Linked DNA regions of Homo sapiens: regions 1, 2, 3, 4, 6 and 7 are each linked to region 5. The links are contacts of gene promoters, found by promoter capture Hi-C in blood cells and fetal thymus (Javierre and others, 2016). All regions are on one chromosome and are shown on one strand. Each heading gives the region's core, a stretch centred on a gene start or on the middle of the fragment in contact. The rest is flanking DNA. Distances are from core to core; before and after follow the strand shown.

What was found. Contacts are between HindIII fragments. The CHiCAGO score rates a contact against its expected background, and 5 or more counts as called.
Region 1: a contact is called between a fragment that was not itself captured here and the fragment with the promoter of COX18 in region 5, in 2 of 17 cell types (total B cells and non-activated CD4 T cells). The highest score is 7.3, in total B cells.
Region 2: a contact is called between a fragment that was not itself captured here and the fragment with the promoter of COX18 in region 5, in 1 of 17 cell types (total CD4 T cells). The highest score is 5.2, in total CD4 T cells.
Region 3: a fragment that was not itself captured here is called in contact with the fragment with the promoter of COX18 in region 5 in 2 of 17 cell types (total B cells and naive B cells); the score reaches 7.0 in total B cells.
Region 4: a contact is called between the fragment with the promoter of UTP3 here and the fragment with the promoter of COX18 in region 5, in 10 of 17 cell types (non-activated CD4 T cells, activated CD4 T cells, naive CD8 T cells and 7 more). The highest score is 16.3, in non-activated CD4 T cells.
Region 6: a contact is called between a fragment that was not itself captured here and the fragment with the promoter of COX18 in region 5, in 2 of 17 cell types (non-activated CD4 T cells and fetal thymus). The highest score is 8.6, in non-activated CD4 T cells.
Region 7: a fragment that was not itself captured here is called in contact with the fragment with the promoter of COX18 in region 5 in 1 of 17 cell types (total CD4 T cells); the score reaches 5.0 in total CD4 T cells.

The regions. Positions count from the first base shown.
Region 1 is chr4:75,673,446-75,676,406 of GRCh38, reverse strand. It overlaps a transcript of G3BP2 not described here. Among named protein-coding and RNA genes, the nearest start is that of G3BP2, 1.5 kb to the right of the region's middle. RefSeq lists enhancers at 206-1,182, 1,183-2,160, 2,897-2,961. The HindIII fragment of the contact is 4,310 bases long and covers 1-2,961 here.
Region 2 is chr4:75,491,115-75,493,814 of GRCh38, reverse strand. It overlaps RCHY1 (ring finger and CHY zinc finger domain containing 1), which reads left to right. Exons shown (of 9, transcript NM_015436.4): 5 at 1,882-1,926; 6 at 2,033-2,091; 7 at 2,178-2,204. Among named protein-coding and RNA genes, the nearest start is that of RCHY1, 22 kb to the left of the region's middle. The HindIII fragment of the contact is 819 bases long and covers 1,033-1,851 here.
Region 3 is chr4:70,752,482-70,755,181 of GRCh38, reverse strand. The region is part of intron 1 of RUFY3 (RUN and FYVE domain containing 3); the gene reads right to left. Among named protein-coding and RNA genes, the nearest start is that of RUFY3, 32 kb to the right of the region's middle. The HindIII fragment of the contact is 253 bases long and covers 1,303-1,555 here.
Region 4 is chr4:70,687,231-70,689,930 of GRCh38, reverse strand. It overlaps UTP3 (UTP3 small subunit processome component), which reads right to left and starts at 1,399. Exons shown (of 1, transcript NM_020368.3): 1 at 1-1,399. The coding sequence starts at 1,253. RefSeq lists enhancers at 1,274-1,333, 535-1,503, 2,034-2,123, 1,504-2,474. The HindIII fragment of the contact is 6,672 bases long and covers 1-2,700 here.
Region 5 is chr4:73,068,370-73,071,069 of GRCh38, reverse strand. It overlaps COX18 (cytochrome c oxidase assembly factor COX18), which reads left to right and starts at 1,354. Exons shown (of 6, transcript NM_001297732.2): 1 at 1,354-1,753. The coding sequence starts at 1,421. It overlaps LOC112268467 (a long non-coding RNA gene), which reads right to left and starts at 1,124. Exons shown (of 2, transcript XR_002959797.2): 1 at 1,041-1,124. RefSeq lists enhancers at 1,003-1,519, 1,066-1,585, 1,520-2,035. The HindIII fragment of the contact is 3,732 bases long and covers 612-2,700 here.
Region 6 is chr4:75,718,678-75,721,600 of GRCh38, reverse strand. It overlaps a transcript of G3BP2 not described here. Among named protein-coding and RNA genes, the nearest start is that of USO1, 4.4 kb to the left of the region's middle. The HindIII fragment of the contact is 5,465 bases long and covers 1-2,923 here.
Region 7 is chr4:75,508,680-75,511,692 of GRCh38, reverse strand. It overlaps RCHY1 (ring finger and CHY zinc finger domain containing 1), which reads left to right. Exons shown (of 9, transcript NM_015436.4): 2 at 2,397-2,516; 3 at 2,758-2,873. Among named protein-coding and RNA genes, the nearest start is that of RCHY1, 4.2 kb to the left of the region's middle. The HindIII fragment of the contact is 2,019 bases long and covers 398-2,416 here.

The DNA.
Region 1 (2,961 bases), core at 143-2,642, 2.6 Mb before region 5:
CATGCCATTGCACTCCAGCCTGGATGACAGAGCGAGACTCCATCTCAAAAAAAAAAAAAAAAAAAAAAAATTATTGGCAATTGGCTGTCAATAAATTGGTGTGAGAAAAAGAGGTTTTTGGCCTGAGCCACCGAATGAATACCGTTCACACTGGTCTCCCTGCCTAGTCTATAGGAGGTGGACATTGCTTCATGGAGGCTATGTTTGAGAGGCAGGGAGATTAGTTAGGAGGCCACTGCAGTCTTCCTGGGAAGATGAAGGGGCCTGAACCTGGGCAGGGGCTATTTGTGTAGAGATATGTTTATGAGGTAAAAATCGCCAGTTAGAATAGGTTAGAGATATTTACTTAACATTGAAGATCGCTGAATCTTTTTTCCCATTAACTCCACTTATTGGTGTCTACTCAAGAGCAGGGTTACCTGAGGGCTGTTTCTGTGTAGCTCTAGAGCTAAACTAAAAATGTTTCTTAAATTTTTAAAGGATGCGAGAGAGAGAGGAATATGCAACAGAAACCATACGTGGCGCTCAAAACCAAAAATATTTACTATCTAATCCTTCCCTTATCAAACCGTTTGCCCACCTCTGCCCTAGATCAGTGGTGTTTGTTTTTTTTGAGACGGAGTTTTCACTGTTGTCACCCAGGCTGGAGTGCAATAGCGCGATCTCAGCTCACCGCAACCTCCGCCTCCCAGGTTCAAGCGATTCTCCTGCCTCAGCCTCCCGAGTAGCTGGGATTACAGGCATGCGCCACCACGCCCGGCTAATTTTGTATTTTTAGTAGAGACGAGGTTTCTCCATGTTGGTCAGGCTGGTCTCAAACTCCTGACCTCAGGTGATCCGCCCCCCTCGGCCTTCCAAAGTGCTGGGATTACAGTCGTGAGCTGCCGCGCCCGGCCTATATCAGTGGTTTTTAAAGTGTGGCTCCTAGAGCAGCAGTAGCACCATCAGCTGAGAACTTGTTAGAAGTGCAAATTCTCGGGCCTCTGTTGAATCAGAAACTTAGGGAGTGGGGCCCAACTATCTGTTTTAACAAGCCCTACAGGTGATTTCGGTGCACATTAAGGTCTGAGAACCACTGCTCTAGAGAAAGTTCTGCACCTCTGCAGGATACATGGTGAAGAATATTTATAATAGCATTGCACGGAAGAGCTCCAAACCGGAAACACTTGAAGGTTAGTCAGCAGTAGGGCAGATAAGTGAATTGCGGCAATTAGTACAATGGGAGTATTCTATAGTTTGCCTGAGGGTATGGACTGTGGAGGCAGATTGCCTGTGTTTGAATCCCAGCTCCAGTGAATAGTAGCAGTGTAGTCCTGGGTAAGTTACTTGACCTCTCCAAGCCTGTTTTCTCATCTATAAAATGGGCATAAAAATAGCAACTACTGGCCGGGTGCGGTGGCTCACGCCTGTAATCCCAACACTTTAGGAGGCCAAGGCGGGCGGATCACGAGGTCAGGTGTGTTCGAGACCAGCCTGGCCAACATAGTGAAACCTCGTCTCTACTAAAAATATAAAAATTAGTTGGGTGTGGTGGCATGCGCCTGTAGTCCCAGCTACTAGGGAGCCTGAGGCAGGAGAACCGCTTGAACCCGGGAGGCGGAGGTTGCAGTGAGCCAAGACCGTGCCATTGCACTCCAGCCTGGGCGACACAGAGAGACTCCATCTTAAAAAAAAAAAAAAAAAAAAAATATATATATATATATATATATATGTACATACATATAGCAACTAGCTCATAGGGTTACTGTGAGGCTCAGAAGGCTGTATAATTACAAGAATGCCTGGTATATAAGCCCAGTATATTAAAGGACAGCCGGCATGTAATGTATTTTGATGCTTTAAGGAAAAACATCAGGTTGATTTCATTAAAGTGATGGTCTGCCCAAATATTTTGCATATAACAGTATCTTTAAGCAGTCTAAAGGTAAAGATATTGTAGACTTTGGAGGCCCTAATGTTGGCATTGCCTCTGCCAATATTTAAGGTATTTGACGTATTGTCTTAACATGCCAAATACCTTAAAATTGCCCTTACAGGATTGCGAAGAAAACTGATGAGATGTACATGCTTGCGTCCACCATGTTTAGTTCGTAAGCATTCATTAATGTATTTTTTCCTTTCCGTTTCTTTGAACACTTCCTCAGTCCTTCATTCCAAAATTCCTGTGCTATCTCGGTATTCTCTGAAAACACTGCCAGACCTAAGATGCAAAGTGGCTTCCTTGACTACAAGATTTGGCTTGGCTTTGTCCATGAAACAAGGTCACCAGTGTCTCACCCTGGGGGCAAGTCTGGGCTTAGAGCTAGAACAGGACTGTAATCCTTGTATTTCAGGCCTTCTTTTAGCTTTAGTATGTAAAATGCTTTAGTATCTACTGATATTTAGCCATGCCTAAATTCGTAACAAGGACACAAAGAAATAGTCTTTTCCCCCTCTGTAAAGCCCACGTCATGTTCTTCCTTTACTGCAGGGCCTCTTAATGGGGCTTAAAACCTAGGATGGGTTAAGTAAACAATGTAGGTGAGTTTAGTGTGCAAACAGCTGAAATCACCGGCTGCATTTTAAGCTCGTCTACAGCAGCAACCTGCAGACACCTATTCAGAGAGATTACTAAATTCCCTCCTTCCCATTAATAAAAAGGACCAGAATATCAGTCTACAAAAGACACTGCGTTGCTGCGAACCAGCTCTCGCTTGCGCGATCAGGAAGAAGGGCGGCAAGGCTGGAGCCTCGGGACCGGAGAAAGGCAGCCTGCTTGTGACGTCAAATCAGCGGACTCTTATCTTGGCTTTAGGCCGGTTCCGGTTCCCCGGCTTTCCGGGCGCGAGCGTGTGCGAGCGCGGCAGCGTACTGCGCGTGCTCCGCAGAGGGACACGGGAAGGTTGGGTCCGGCTCTGGAGGAGATGCGTGATTGGCTGACGCTGTGCTCGGGGGTTCCCTGGCCCTTTCGGCAGGGGTAAA
Region 2 (2,700 bases), core at 193-2,692, 2.4 Mb before region 5:
TTTAAGAATAACTTTAAAACAGGAGAAATACTGAATGGTGTAACCTAATTAGCACAACATTCTAAGAAAATTCAGAAAATATTTTACTATTTCTTTTTATAATTAAGACATACATATTTTAAATCTGGATGTAGGAATTATGTCACAATCCCAGGCCCTTTTTCATTATTTAAAAAAAAATCTAATAAAGTATTACATTATAGTACTGATTCTATCTACTGTAAGAATTTAATTAAGAGAATGGAGGATTGGTGTAAAGTGAAGTGTAAATCGTACTTGTTCAAGTATAGGAAATTCCAGATAAGGCAGAACAGTATAAGTAGCAACATTGTAGCTGTTGAGAGAGAGAGAGACAGATAGACATTAATTGGAAAGAGACTGTTTGAAATCATTTACTTAGCAGTATAGTAGGTTCGATAGAATATAAGAATAAGAAGTTATTGCAGAAATATAATATTAGCTAGAACTTGGCCTAAATAGTAAAGTGGTGAGGAAAATTGAGATGAATAATGAACATATATGATGTGGTAATGGTATTAAGGAAAAAGAATGAGGCAGAGTAAAGATGACTCTGAAGATTTTCAGCCCCAGCTTAAGGTACTTGATTAGTAGATTGTAAATTTTTTGAAGATAAAAGATTGAGTTTGGTTTTTAAACTTGAGTTTGGGGTGATGGCAAGCTATGCTAATGGAGATAGCCAGGAGTCAATAGTATCTTATAGATTACATTTCTATGATGTTCTGGTTTCCAAAGCATGTGTAGTGTGTGTGCACACACTAATTCATTGCATCCTCACCTCAGCATTTACATTCCATCAACTCAGAGATGCCACTGATGATCAGATATGTTGTAATTGTGGGGATGTTAAAATGTATGTGTGAGGTGCACTTTAGAATCAAATGAAATATGTATTAATTTTATTTTATAAATAAGAAACGTTAAGACTAAAGTGGTGGCTAGTCCAAAATCTCAAGGGCTGGTAAATAGCAGAGCTAGGATTACAGTCTAGATTTTTAAACTTACTATTAAGCTTATTATTTTGAGGGTTTTTCTCCCCACTATACTGTCATCTTTCAAAAACTTACATCTATTTTTTTGTTATGGTTTTTTTTGTTATGTTGTTTTTCAGTTATCTTTTATTGTCTATATTACTAAGTGGTCCTGCCATCTATTAAGTGCTTCCGTTAAAAACCTGGGAGTCTTCCATGGCACAGTGCTTTCCCTTACCTCCTTGGATTTAATCAGACATTACATCTTGTCAAATTAAGAACTCTGGCTCTGAAGTTAGCCTGCTGGAGCTCCAGTTTAATTCTGCCTCTTATTAATGTGTGACTTTGGAAGTTCCTTAGCTTCTCTAGGCCTCCACTGCTTTAACTGTAAAATGGTATAACAATCATAGCCTATTTCATCTAGGATTGTGAGATTTAATTGATCTTATACAGGTACTGTGCTGAACATGGCATGTAGTAAATTTCAATAATATGAACTATTATTACCAATATTATTAGTAAGTTGAGCTTACTAATTTAGGTCACTGGCTTTGGAGTAAAACATACATAATATGCAAAGGTTCCAAATCTTATTATCTTTGGATCTTGGGTAAGTGTCTTGAATTCCTAAGTCACTTTCCTTATTTGTGAAATGAAGGTAATCTCAATAATGTTTATTGACATTTTCATTGTATCAGATAATATGCCAAGCCTGAAATAGTGTGAGATTTAAATAACTATTAAAAAACTCTTCTTACATATAAAAAGCATATATTAATGTTAGCTATTATTTTTAGTAAGTTGGTTTTGTTAATTTTTATTATTAATATTTTTATACCTGACATTTTAATCTAGTTAAGCTTTTGTTAATGTGAATTTCTCTTTTAAACAGTGTATTGAAAATGTGTCCCGACAGAATTGTCCAATATGTTTGGAGGTAGGCTTAAAATATTTTTTACTTTGGAAGTCTCAGCTCTTGAATTTAAAATACTTGGATGTTTATATTGTCTTCATACAAGCACTAACATTTATTTCATTTACAGGACATTCACACATCCCGTGTTGTTGCTCATGTCTTGCCATGTGGACATCTTTTACATAGGTAAAGTAACATCTTTTTCTCAATGATGTTTGAAAATAGTGGAGACAGTTTTTGTTTTACTAAAATAATCTTATATTTTCTTTCAGAACGTGTTATGAAGAAATGTTGAAAGAGTGAGTGTTTGGGATTTTAAAAATAATTGTAAGATGTTTGACTTTTTTGTGTGTGTGGTGTGGGGAGGTGGACAAACATTGTTACTTATACTATATTGGGCATGGCAATATTTATATTGAAATGGGTAGGGTAGATGAATATTGTTAAAACAGGACAAAGTGTCTTGGATATAGAACTACACTTTTGCCATATGTTTCTCTTAAATCTTGTCTCCTCCCACAATTTGAGGTAGTTACCTCTTTTTTTTCTGGCCATATATACCAGGAAGTGCAGTTTTTGCCAGATGCAGTTATAGTGTTGTAAAAATGCTGAAAAATATTGCCAAAAATTTGTTAGGTTGTTATATTGGCCAAGTATAGTAAACTAAAAGAAAGTAGGTGAAGTGATCATTAAAGCTAAGACTTTATTAATGGAAAAGATATTAAAATTAGATGAAAATAATTGAAAAGAGAAGACTGTATTTTGGTCCTACATATTGATGAGCAAAAATGTGAA
Region 3 (2,700 bases), core at 180-2,679, 2.3 Mb after region 5:
GGCTCACGCTGGTGGCTCACGCGGTGGCTCAGGGAGGATCATCTGAGGTCAAAAGTTTGAGACCAGCCTAGCCAACACAGTGAAACCTCGTCTTTACTAAAAATACAAAAATTAGCTGGGCATGGTGGCAGGCGCCTGTAATCCCAGCTACTAGGGAGACTGAGGCAGGAGAATCGCTTCAACCCGGGAAGCGGAGGTTGCAGTGAGCCAAGATCACACCACTGCATTCCAGCCTGGGAGATAGAGTGATACCCCCGTCTCAAGAAAAAAAGAAAAAAAAAAAAGCTTTAATATGAGATTAAAAACAACAAACTAACAGAAACATATAGAAAGAAAAGCTTACTCTATGTTGGGAATGACTGAAGAACAATAATTTTAAATAAATCTATTTTGAACTTTTGCAATAATTGTTCTTAGAGTATAAAACTGGACAGAAAATGAGTCCTTGATTGTGAAAGAAAGAAGTGAAAGTACTAAAAAGACCTTAGCGTATAAAACTGGACAGAAAATGAGTCCTTAATTGTGAAAGAAAGAAGTGAAAGTACTGAAAAAGACCTTGTAATAAAACACCATTTAGTTAGCCTGATGACACTTATTTGTATGAGACAATCATGAACTTTTATTCTATCCTCATTTACAAAAAAAAAAAAAAATTATAATAGAGTCTTAGGACCCTTAGAATATCTATATATCTATATCCATAACTATATCTATCTATTCTTAATGGCGTCTCAGGTATCATATTTCTACTCAATAATAAGAAAATTTACTTAAGTAACATTTTCTCTGGATTGAAATCTGTTAAAGGGGTTAGTCAAAAAAATTAACCAGCCAGGCTTGGTGGCTCACACCTGTAATCCCAGCACTTTGGGAGGCCGAGGCAGGTGGATTACCTGAGGTCAGGAGTTCGAGACCAGCCTGGCCAACATGGGGAAGCCCCATCTCTACTAAAAGTACAAAAGTTAGCTGGGTGTGGTGCCAGGCACCTGTAATCCCAGCTACTCAGGAGGCTGAGGCAGGAGAATCACTTGAACCCGGCAGGCAGAAACTGCAGTGAGCCAAGATTGTGCCATTGCACTCCATCCAGCCTGGGCGACAACAGCAAAACTCCATCTCGAAAAAAAAAAAAAAATTAACCATAAATTTACTTGTCCTCATTGCTACCTTTTCTTGGTAACAGTATAATCAATGATGAACTTCACTGAGTTAGGACTTGTCATCAGAAAGGATTAATATACTCATCCATGGAGCCAATTAACCTATTATATGACTTCAGGCAAGAAATCTCACCCCTTTGAAGCTTCAATTTCCTCATCAGTAAAATGAGAGGGTTGGGCTTGTTCAGTTTTTTCCCTTGGAAACCATGCACATTCATAATAGTCATAATGACATATAGCAGCACTGATTCTCAAAGGGAGAGACATATTAATATACCTGGAACCAGAGAAATGACATGTTCTGTTTGGAAAATCCCACAAATGATTGATACCAAATGAACTAGATCCTTTCTACTCTCTGGTCTCAGAACATCAACACTGGCATAACCAGGAAAGCTTTTAGACAAGGGAAGCTGTAGACTTCAACACTACCACTGAATCAGGTTTTGCACTTTAACTAGATCCCCAAGCAATCTGTATGTGCATTAAAGTTTGAGAAGCACTGGCCTAGATCACTCTCCTAGCTAGCATATTATAATTCCATGATTTCACAGTTGGCTTCATCAAGGGCAACCAACATACATGTATATAAGTAGAAAGCCCTAGGAGGAAGGAAATAATAAAGATTAGATCAGAAATAAATTAAAAAGCAAAAACAACTACTGAGAAAAATCAATAAAATCCAAAGTTGGCTCTTTGACAAGATTAACAATACTGACATTTAGCTAGACTGATCAGTAGAAAAGGGAGAAGATTCAAATTACTAAAATCGGGAATGAAAGAGGGGACAGTAGTATTGACATTACAGAAACAAGGATTATAAGGGAATACTACGGACAACTGTATGTCAACATATTAGATAATCTAGACAAAATGGACAATTTCTTAGACACAAACTACCAAAACTGACATAAGAAGAAATAGGAAATCTGAACAGACCTACAAGTAAAGATCCTGAATTAGTAATAATAATAAAAAAATAGCATACAGAGGAGGCCAGGACCAGATAGTCTCGTTGTTAAAATCTACCAGTCATTTAAGGAATTGACACCAATCCTTGACAGACTATTCCAAAAATTAGAAGAGAGAACTTCCGAACTCATTCTATGACACTAATATTACCTTGAGACCAAATCAGATAAAGATATCATAAGAAAACTATAGATCAATACTCCTTATGAATACAGACACAAAAATCCTTAACAAAATACTGGTAAACCAAATCCAGAAACATATAAGAAGGATTATATAACTGGACCAAGTGGGATTAATCACAGAATGCAAGGTCGGTCCAACACACAAAACTCAATCAGTGTAATACACCAAATTAACAGAGTAAAGAAAGACATCACATGGTCATTTCATTAGAAGCAGACAAAGTACTTGACAAGTTCCAATATCCATTAATGATAAAAACATTCAACAAACTAGGAAGAGAAAGAACTTCCTTAGCTTGACAAAGGGCATCTACAAAAAACTCACAGCTAACAAACTTGATGGCAAAAGACTGAAGGCTTTCTCAAAGATCAGGAACAAGACAAGG
Region 4 (2,700 bases), core at 150-2,649, 2.4 Mb after region 5:
TTTTTAGCAATTTGATAGGTAATAGCTCTCTTTGCATTTTGATCTTCAAGAGCCTGTTCTTCAGTGCTATTTTCTTCTTTCTTTCTCTTTAGCTTTTGCCTGTCTTCTATTTCTTTATAGTACTTCAGTTTTGCTTTTTCATCAAAATCAGAATCATCAGAAAGATCTGTAACAGCACAGGCAGCAGCAGAAGTCTTTGAAACAGACTTTGGTTTGGGCTTGGTGGATTTTGCTTTTGGAATCAGTTCTTTCTTTACAGCATCATCCTTAAGTGTCAACAGATGACGAATTTCTGAGGACAGCTTCTGATCCACAACGGACAGCTTGTTGATCAAATTTCGGTAGGTAACAAGCCTTTCTATGACAGGATGTCCATGTGCTGGGACTCTCCTAGCTTTCAGGATCAAATAAAAACTGATGTTCGAGCAATAATTCAAGTAGAGGTTGTACTTGGTCCTCAAGTATTGGCTTCCTTTTCCGGGTGGAATGATCCCTTGTTCCACCAACTCTAACAATGGCTCCAGCTCATCCTTAACCTCTGTCAACTTGACTTTCAGGTCTTCTATCAGCTCCAAGAGTTCTGGTGATTCCTTTCGCAACATTTTCAGCTTCTCTTTCACTGAAACTTTAGCCAAATCCTTCACGACCCGTGTCTCAGCCTCATCTACCTGAGGCACTGGTTTTGCAAAGGCCTCAACCCAGGCGACACCAAAATCATCCTCTTGCAGCGCTTGGGCTAGGCGCCGCTGAATGATCTGTGCCTCCTCCTCCTCCTCTCTTTCCTCCTCCTCTGCCTCCTGTTGACTCTGCCGGCCTCGGGACTTGGAACCATAGTCCGTGTCATAGTAAAGTTTTTTCCTCTGACCCCACGACAAACTGGGATCCACAGAGGCCTCAGCTTCACTTTGCACGGAGCTCCCACCATCATCATCGGCATTCTCCTCCTCCTCCTCCTCCCCCGCATTCCCTCCATCTTCGTCGTCCTCATCGTCCATATCTAGGGCTAGCACCTCCTCCTCCTCCTCCTCGCCATCCTCCTCGTCTCCACTCTGTACTTCATTCCAGCCCTTAGCTAAGGCGGCCCGGGATCGTGCCTCATGAAAGTCATCTACCTGATCTTGGTAGTAGCTGGTGTCCCCTGGTGAGGGTGGCAATCCTAAATCATCTCCATTTTCGTCGGTGAGCGTGGGACCTGCCTTGGCTCGCACAGCTGCCCACTTAGCTGCTCCGCGCCGCCGGGATCTCCCCACCATGGCTCACAATCTCAGGTTTTACAGCGACTCCGGACTTTCGGCCACCACTGACTTCGGCGCAGGAATCAGGCGCTCCGGTAACTCGTGGCTCTAAACAGCAGCGCGCTCCCCTACCACCGGAGTTTGCAGACTCCTGATCGGCTACTGGAATTTCCTCTTCCTTCCGGCCCCCAGCATGCTCTCCGCGTGGCGTACGATTGAGGACTTCCGCTCGGTCCCTTAGTCGAGATCACGTTGATACCAACTTCCTTTTCACTGTGCCCTTTAACGCCAGTCGATTCCGGTGAATTAAAATCTTTCCGTGTGGAAACGATAGGATAAGGAAGTTCCGTTCCACAGAACGCTTTCTCGGGCTAATGCGCTTACTCTCGAGTGCCTGGGAGTGGCTGGGGGACGGAATCCTGACGGCACCTCCAGGCGAGGTCCCGATGGCCAATAGAGGGCGCTGCGCTTTACGCCCCGGAGAAGTCCCGGGGGCGTTCCATTGAGGTTTAACTGCGTGTGTACCCGGCGCTTGCGACCGGCAGTCTAGTGCTAGCGTAGTTTTCCTGCTCCCTTGTTTTCTCTTTTCTGCTTATCAGGCTGGAAGTTAATCAGATTGCTTTCCTCTCATTTCACCCCCACCCCCAATACCATATTTCTGGGTACCACAGCCTCAGGCAGCGCCGCTGGACTCCAGAATCCCACGGGAGGTTTCCGGGCGAGAGCGCAGGCCGGGCCTCCGGCTCGGGTTTACTCATCCCCATCGCCCTCTCCCTGCTCACAGGGCTCGGTGACCCGCTCCATGGGGATCGATAAAGCTAGATGACCCCGAGGCTGACAGTGGGAAGGCAGAGCCCCGCTGCAGGGTCTGACTCTTCTCAAGGAAGTCTGCCCTGTAATGTTAGAGTAATTCAGGGTGTAAGTTTTTAGGCATTACATATGTAAGGTTCAGGGTTAGTATTATTATACCTTTTAATGTAGGTAGTTGGAAGCTGAACTTTTGATACGTTGCTAAAATTAATGGTGACATGGCTGGGCGCGGTGGCTCATGCCCATAATCCTAAGCACTTTGGGAGGCCGAAGTGGGTGGATCACTTGAGGTCAGGAGTGCAAAACCAGCCTGGCCAACATGGGGAAACCCAGTCTCTACTACAAATACAAAAAATTAGCGGGGCGTGGTGGCGGGTACCTGTAATCCCAGCTACTCGGGAGGTTGAGGCAGGAGAATCACTTGAACCCGGGAGGCGGAGGTGGCAGTAAGCCGATATCGCACCACTGCACTCTAGCCTGGGCGACAGACAGAGACTCTGTCTCAAAATAAATAAATAAATAAATAAAATAAAATTAATGGTGACAATTTCTTTTTCTTTTGTTTTTTGTTTCTTTTTTCTTTTTCTTTTTTTCTTTTTTTTTTTTTGAGACGGAGGCTCGCTCTGTTGCCAGGCTGGAGTGCAGTGGCAATCTC
Region 5 (2,700 bases), core at 105-2,604:
GTATCCTCCCATCTTGGCCTCCCAAAGTGCTGGGATTACAGGCGTGATCCACTGTGTCTAGCAAAAATAACTTTAAAATTCTGTTCAGATTATGAACAGCTGAACAGTAGTCAGTAGCAACTGATGGCTTTTTTGTTAGCTTAATAAATGGATAAAGAAATAGATTGGTAGGTTTTTCTTTTAGAAAAAGTTTATATATAGTGTGTGTTGTGCTGTGTGTTTAAACACATTTAAAAATTCATGTATAGATTTATCAGTCAGTTTGGAAAGCAGATGAATTCCAGAATCCTGAGAAAGTTATCGTAGGGTACCCTTGGTTAGGTGCACAGTGAAGGGCAAACAATAGCTGGCGTTTGACATTACCCAACATTGTTGGAGGCTTCTTTTCCTAAGTAAGTAAATAAATAAATAAATAAAAATCAAGGTTTACTCCTCACAACATATTTTAGTCTGTAGTCTAGGGGTGACCCTTCGGTGAGGAAACTCCTCCACAACATTCCATTTTGTTGTTTCCAGGAACACAAAAGTTAAAACTATATAGTCCATGTAGATTCAACGTATTCCTTTAAACCAGAAGACAGCCAGTGCTGCTGTTCAGGCTCTTTAAAGCTTATATAGGATACAAGTAAACTCAAGGAATTCACCGTACTGCCAGTGATAGTTTCCCTTAAATAAAGAGATGATACTTTTACTATAAGATTTTTGCTGCTATTTATCATGGAAGACAAAACACCGAAGAAATTCAGTTTGCAGTTGGTGGTCCAAATACTAACTGGAACAGATGGGCCAATTAAATCTACAAGAGACTGAACTATCCCTCGTGCTTAACACTCAGAGTCAGCAAGAAACATGCGTCTCTCTACAAGCAGGTACTTTAGCAACGTGTGACTCTTGAGTATGATAATCTATCGTAATCGCTAACGGAAGCAATCAGGTGCACGTAAAGAGGTTGGGGATCAGCTTCTGGTCACAAAAAACCGAGCAAGGATAATTCCACTACAAATGACTATTAGCTTTAGTGAAAAAGAATGGTAAGTTACACGGTGTAGATGAACTTTACAAGGCGAGAGCTCCCTAAAGAACACCCAGCCTGGCGGAGGGCAGCAGGCTCCACCCATGTCTCTGCAGTTTTGGTCCGGCCTCGGACTAACTACACCCTAGCAGCGGGAAACTTTCGCGTGTGCGCAGTAGGCCTGTCCAGTGCCGCGTGGGAAAGGCGGGACTTTCCTATCTCTTGCGTCACATCCACTGCGACGCAAGACGTCACCGGCTTGACTGGGAAGGTCAATCGCGGCTGCAGGCAGGCGCGCATGCGCTTTATGCCCGCTGTTGCTGGCGCGTGCGCGTATCAGCCTTGGCTGGCCGGTGTATGTCCGCTGGATTGTGAGGCCCGGGATCTGGGCTCCGCCGTGGTGCAGAAATGCTGTGCCGGCTCGGCGGTCGGTGGCTGCGGCCGCTCCCTGCCCTGCAGCTTTGGGCTAGGGACCTGCCGCTTGCGCCGGTTCCTACGAGCGGCGCCAAGCGCCCCACTCTCCCAGTGTGGGCAGTGGCACCAGTCTCTGCAGTACATGCGAACGGCTGGTACGAGGCCCTGGCCGCGTCTTCGCCGGTGCGGGTTGCGGAGGAAGTACTGCTCGGCGTGCACGCCGCCACGGGCCTGCCCTGGTGGGGCAGCATTCTGCTCTCCACCGTGGCCTTACGGGGTGCTGTCACGCTGCCTTTGGCAGCCTACCAGCACTACATCCTGGCCAAGGTGAGGGGCGCCGAGCCGTGCGCGTACCCTGCGCTGCAACCCCTGCGGCGGAGGAAGGCCGACATTCACTCAGGGTTTTCGATCGCACGATGTTGCCTTCTGCAGTGCTTAGTGTTTAATCATCGTGACCATTTCATTGTGACCATTTTAGCGTTAAAAAAAATTGAACTAGCATTAGGTGTGTTAAATAAGATACTTTGTGACACGTGTACCTGTCATTTCTTTTGTCTTACTGGATTTGTGCTCCAAGCACAAGTGGTTACTATACTTGCTCTCGGGGAACGGAGACAAAGAAATCAGTCGCAGAAGAAATTGTGTTGGCGAAACCTACAAAATTTATGTCTTAAAAGTTTTAATAGCCAGTATGTCTGCAGTGTCTTTCGTCCCAAAGTATTCCAGCTGGTCTTTCTTATTAGGAAGAAACTACTAGACTAACAGTTTGCGAACTTGTTTCCTCTCCAGACCCGACTAAGACTGTGTCTGGTTGGTCGCAGTTACTTGACCTTTTAATGCTGAATCCTTTTTTCTGAGGAATCAGGCTAGCAGTACCTTCCTTGCCTACTTCACAGCGTTATCAGAGCAAGTCAGATAATACGGGTTAAAGTGCTTGATTATTCAAATGGGATATTTCAAAAATAGTGGCTTTCTTGTTTTCAGGTTGTGAGCATGGGGAAAAAAAACCGGAAACAAAACAGGAACGGAATCAGCAGCAACATTAAGGCAGTGAGCCATTTTACAGGAAGAATGAGCACAGGGCAGGAATAAATGCTATTTTTACTTTTGATTTGTGGCTATCACAGTGTATTAAAGGTTCTTAACAAACTGCTGTTTTCTCCGCTTACGTTACTAGGAAATGTAGAGATGGAACAGTAAAGCCCAGGGTGCAGTTCTTATCTAATATTTGTAACCCTGTGAAGTAGGTGCTGTTATATATTTTATATGTGAGG
Region 6 (2,923 bases), core at 7-2,506, 2.7 Mb before region 5:
ATTATTTTGGTAGGTTATAAGCCCCTTCAGTATCGTATATAGGTTTTTAAAGACGTAGCTCATGGCTATAATCCCAGCACTTTGGGAGGCCAAGGTGGGAGGATCATTTAAGCTCAGGAGTTCAACACCAGCCTGGGCAATGTGGCAAAACCCTGTCTCTACAAAAAATAAAATATTAGCTGAGCATGGTGGCATGCGCCTGTATTCCCAGCCAGTAGTCCCACTTACTTGGGAGGGTGTGGGAGGATCGCTGGAGCCTGGGAGATCAAGGCTGCATTGAGCCATGATTGTGCCACTGCATTCCAGCTGGGAGGATGGAGTGAGACCCTGTCCCAAAAAAAAAAAAAAAAGACTAGTTGAGGCTGGGCGAGGTGGCTCACGCCTGTAATCCCAGCACTTTGGGAGGCTGAGGTGGACGGATCACCTGAAGTTGGGAGTTCCAGACCAGCCTGACCAACATGGAGAAACCCCGTTGTCTACTAAAAATACAAAATTAGCTCGGCGTGGTGGCACATACATCCTGGAACTCCTGGGTTCAAGAGCTCTTCCTGCCTCAGCCTCCTGAGTAGCTAGGACTACAGGTGCACACCATCATGCCTGGCTAATTTTTTTTTTTTTTTTTTTTTTGTAGAGATGAAGTCTTGCTATGTTACCCAGACTGATGTCAAACTCCCGGCCTCAAGCTATTCTCCTGCCTCAGCCTCCCAAAATACTGGGATTGCAGGTGTGAGCCAACTGCCCCAGGCTTCAAAATATTTTTATTTATTTATTTATTTATTTATTTATTTATTTATTTATTTATTTTGAGATGGAGCCTCGCTCTGTCACCCAGGCTGGAGTGTAGTGGCGCGATCTCGGCTCACTGCAACCTCGGCCTCCCGGGTTCAAGCGATTCTCCTGCCTCAGCCTTCCAAGTAGCTGGGAATAGAGGCACATGCCACCATGCCTGGCTAATTTTTTGTATTTTTAGTAGAGACAGGTTTTCACCGTGTTAGTTAGGATGGCCTCGATCTCCTGACCTTATGATCCGCCTGCCTCAGCCTCTCAAAGTGCGTGAGCCACCGCGCCTAGCCCTCAAAATATTTTTTTTTTTTTTTTTGAGACGGAGTCTCGCTCTGTTGCCCAGGCTGGAGTGCAGTGACGCGATCTCAGCTCACTGCAAGCTCTGCCTCCTGGGTTCATGCCATTCTCCTGCCTCAGCCTCTGGAGTAGCTGGGACTACAGGCGCCCGCCACCGCGCCCGGCTAATTTTTTGTATTTTTGGTAGAGACGGAGTTTCTCCGTGGTCTCGATCTCCTCATCTCGTGATCCGCCCGCCTCGGCCTCCCAGAGTGCTGGGATTACAGGCATGAGCCACCGCGCCCGGCGCCCTCAAAATATTTTTAAAAGCCTTAGGAAATCCTTGGGAGAGGAGAGTCCAAGAAAGAAGGTTTTGGTAGCTGGGCGTGGTGGCCTATCATTCCAGCTATGCGCAGGAGGCTGAGGCATGAGAATTGCTTGAAGTTGCAGTGAGTCAAGATTGTGCCACTGCACTCCAGCCCAGGTGACGGAGTGAGACCCTTTCTCAAAAAAAAAAAAGGGTTCTGGGCCCCCCCATCCTGCTCCATTTGATTGGTTTCATTTGTTTATACTTCCTGTTTCGCTTGAACAAAAAGATTCAGAGGCTAAAATGTTGGACAGCTACCTCTCTCAGGAGATAAGAAATGAGACCAGGCCGGGCACGGTAACTCACCCTTGTAATCCCAGCACTTTGGGAGGCCGAGGCGGGTGGATCACCTGAGGTCGGGAGCTTGAGACCAGCCTGACCAACATGGAGAAATCCCGTCTCTACTAAAAATACAGAATTAGCCGAGCGTGGTGGTGCATGCCTGTAATCCTAGCTACTCGGGAGGCTGAGGCAGGAGAATCGCTTAAACTGGGAGGCGGAGGTTGCAGTGAGCCAGGATCTTGCCATTGCCCTCCAGCCTGCGCAACAAGAGCGAAACTCCGTCTCAAAAAAGAAATGAGACCAAGGTAAGGACTTGGAATAGTTGAGGTGTCTCACATGCTATAGAGCCCAGAGTTCCTGCTTTACTTTTTTTTAAAGGAATGGTAATTGTTGCCTCCTGTGGTTGTTTTTGGGATTTTATTAGATAATATCTGTAACGTTCATATTACTTAGTACTTGAAACATAGTAAGTACTCAATAATGATTAGAGTGGAGACCCTGATCATCTTCGGTATTATCAATTTCTTTTTTTTTTTTTTTTTTTTGAGACGGAGTCTTGCTCTGTCGCCCAGGCTGGAGTGCAGTGGCGGGATCTCGGCTCACTGCAAGCTCCGCCTCCCGGGTTCACACCATTCTCCTGCCTCAGCCTCCCAAGTAGCTGGGACTACAGGCGCCCGCCACTAAGCCCGGCTAATTTTTTGTATTTTTAGTAGAGACGGGGTTTCACCGTTTTAGCCGGGATGGTCTCGATCTCCTGACCTCGTGATCCGCCCGCCTCGGCCTCCCAAAGTGCTGGGATTACAGGCGTGAGCCACGGTATTATCAATTTCTTAACAACTGAACGTTTAAAGATATTACCCTGTAAGTCTTCAACTCCAGCCCTACTAGCTCATGTTACTGAGAAGTCTGTTACTTCAGATGAGGCTTAATCTGGGGTATCAAGCCAATTTCCCTGTTATCTGGGTTTTCACTATTTCTGGACTCTGCTCTCCTTAACTGTTTTTGTTTTTTTTTCTCTAGCTCCATGCGGGGCAAGATGGCTGCCAGGACCTATAGTCCTAGTATCCTAGGCCCAAGTTCATCAAAGACTCCCAACCTCTCTCCTAAGAGTCCCAGCAAAAGTCTCCTTGTGACTCATTTTACCTGATAGGGTCGCATGCCTATGTGGTGAGCTAATTCCTGTAGTTTAAGGTTTGAGATGTTCTGATTGGCCTT
Region 7 (3,013 bases), core at 158-2,657, 2.4 Mb before region 5:
GCTTCACTTAAAAATGTTGATAAAGCAGTAAAATCGTTAATTTTAACCAAATCTCAACCCTTGAATATATCTTTTAATATGCTGTTCAATGACATGGGAAGTTTTGATCAAACACTTCTGCAAACTGAAATTAGAGGGTTGTCTTGAGGAAAAGCTCTTGTGCAAATTGGATTGTAAAGTGAACTAGTTGCTTTTTTTCATGGAACAGCATTTTTTACTTGAAAAAATTGTAGTCATTCACATTTGGGTAGTTGGCAGACATTTTCTCAAAAAGGAGAAAAGTGAGACTCACTACAAATGAAAATGACAGTATTTGTTGCCAGTGATAAAATTCAAGCTTTCACACAAAAATTAGAATTTTGGAAAACTTTTACTAGCTTTTGTGAGGTTGGAAGCTTTTTAAAAGACTTTTTTTGGTGAGATTTTCTTCAATACCTAAAGACTTTTAATGAATATGATTTTTTGATATTGCATGTTAAATGTGTGAACATTTAGAAGATGTAAATAACTCACTGAACTGGTATTCTCCAGATGACCAATGCATGAGTAAAACATCCATTTGAAGTGCAAGATAGAGCAATAGATTTTAATGTAACCAAGGAAGAAAAGAGGCATCATATCAATCATATTCCTTGATACGATTTCAGATTTCATGTTGCAACTACCCTTTAAGAGTTGTTGTTCTAGTGTAATATCAGAGAATGATATCCATAATTCTCCAAAAAGGCTATTAAAATACTCCTTTCTTTTCCAGTGTACATATTTGTGTGAGGCCAGAGTTTCTTTTTGTACTTCAGCCACAACTGTTTGAATGCATAAGCAGATAGAAGAATTCAGCTGTTTGGGGGGAAAAATATAGTTATTTTTCATTAAAACATGTTATTTATGTTAACAAGTAATGAGTTTGTTACTTTTAAAAAGAAGTAATATTTTAAAAACCTATTCTTTTTAATTTATGATGTGGTATATGTCAATAGATAAAATCCACATAAACCAAAGCTCTTTGGGATTCTCAGTAATTTTAAAAAGTGTGAAGGGATCCTGAGACCAAACCATTTGAGAACTACTGTTCTGCGGTATAACTATGAGAATAGTGGGTTGGAGGACAAGGTTATTGGAAATGACAAAGTTAAGGAACTGAGAGTTGCAGAAAAAGGAAGCCAGTTAAGTGTTAAAATCTTTAAGGAATGAACTACGTTATGGTAAGTCAAGGCATAGGAAGCCTTCAGAAATGAGTGGATCTGCAAGGTCACAGTGTATTGGAAAGTCACTGGCCTGGAAATCTCTTGATATACTTGTAATGGTAAAGTTGCTGTAATGAAAAAACCCAACAGTGATGTAGATTAAAGAGTAAAGGTTTTATTTCTTTCCATTTAACAATTCCAAGGCGAGTGATGCAGGTTGGTGATGAGGCTTTGCTCCACATGGTCACTCCAGGGATGAGATTTTTCTGTTGTATCATTTTGTCATGTTTTAGGGCATGTGGCCATCTGTCTGATATAGCTGAACAATTGTGCCCAGGAAGGAGAGGATAGATTTTGGTGGACAACTGGCAGTCTTTGCCGTGTTTGAAAACAAGGGCTGTCTCTTACATTTGTTGCATTTTGTGCAATATTAGATATGAGGTTGATGATTAATAAAAGCTAGTAAAATAAGAATATAATCTTTATTATTTTTAATGTAAATGAATTTATCTGGAAATGTCTAAGAAGAGGTTGCCTGTTTGCTGTTTAGGCTCAGAATGAAATTGGGGTGTTATATTAGTCTGTTTTCACACTGCTGATAAAGACATACCCAAGACTGGGAAGAAAAAGAGGTTTAATTGGACTTACAGTTCCACATGGCTAGGGAGGCCTGAGAATCATGGCGGGAGACAAAAGGCACTTCTTACATGGTGGTGGCAATAGAAAATGAGGAAGAAGCAAAAGTGGAAACTCCTGATAAACCCATCAGATCTCATGAGATTTTATTCATTATCACGAGAATGGCACGGGAGAGTCTGGCCCCCATGATTCAGTTACCTCCTTCTAAGTCCCTCCCACAACACGTGGGAATTCTGGGAGATACATTTCAAGTTGAGATTTGGGTGGGAACACAGCCAAAGCATATCAGGTGTTGTGGGATTAGTGTTTCAATCTAGGGATTTCCTTCATAATTCTTTTGTTTTAAAGTTGTGTTCAACTTCATACAGACGTAGTGATGTTGAAGGGAAGAATTAACATAAAATATGCCAAGAAACTAGTGAAATGTTATGTTTAGGATCAGTTTAGCAACTGATCTATTGGTTGTAATCTTTCAGTTCCATCCAGGAGGAGGAGGAAGAAATTTTCTTTTTGTATTGCACACTTAGTTTCTTTTGCTTCTTACTATATCTCTTTTTTCTCCGTGGGTGTTAGGCACCTTGCTGTGACAAGCTTTATACTTGCCGCTTGTGTCATGATAACAATGAAGATCATCAACTAGATCGCTTTAAAGTGAAGGAAGTGCAGTGCATAAACTGTGAAAAAATTCAACATGTAAGATTTTATGACATTTCTATTTTCTTTTTAAAAGCTGTATTAAGGTGGTTTGAAAAAATTTAATCAAAAGTATCATAAATAAGATTTCTTTAACTTCTAGAATAAGCAATATCTTTGGTTTAGGTGTTTCAAAACTTATAAAAATAAACTGCATATAGTTGAACATAAGTTCTAGATATTCAAATGGTAACTCAAAATGTTTAGTTTATTGCAGTTTTTAATTATGTTTCTTTTTTAGGCCCAACAGACTTGTGAAGAATGTAGCACATTGTTTGGAGAATATTATTGCGATATATGCCATTTGTTTGACAAAGATAAGAAGCAGTATCACTGTGAAAACTGTGGAATTTGTAGGTACTGTATGTAAAGTGTTCTTATCTAATTGCTTCTAATGTATATGCAATAATAGTTTTTAAAATCAACTTTATTAAGGTGTAATTTACATCTGATAAGATACATTCATTTTAAGTGTCCAATTAAGTGAGTTTTGATAA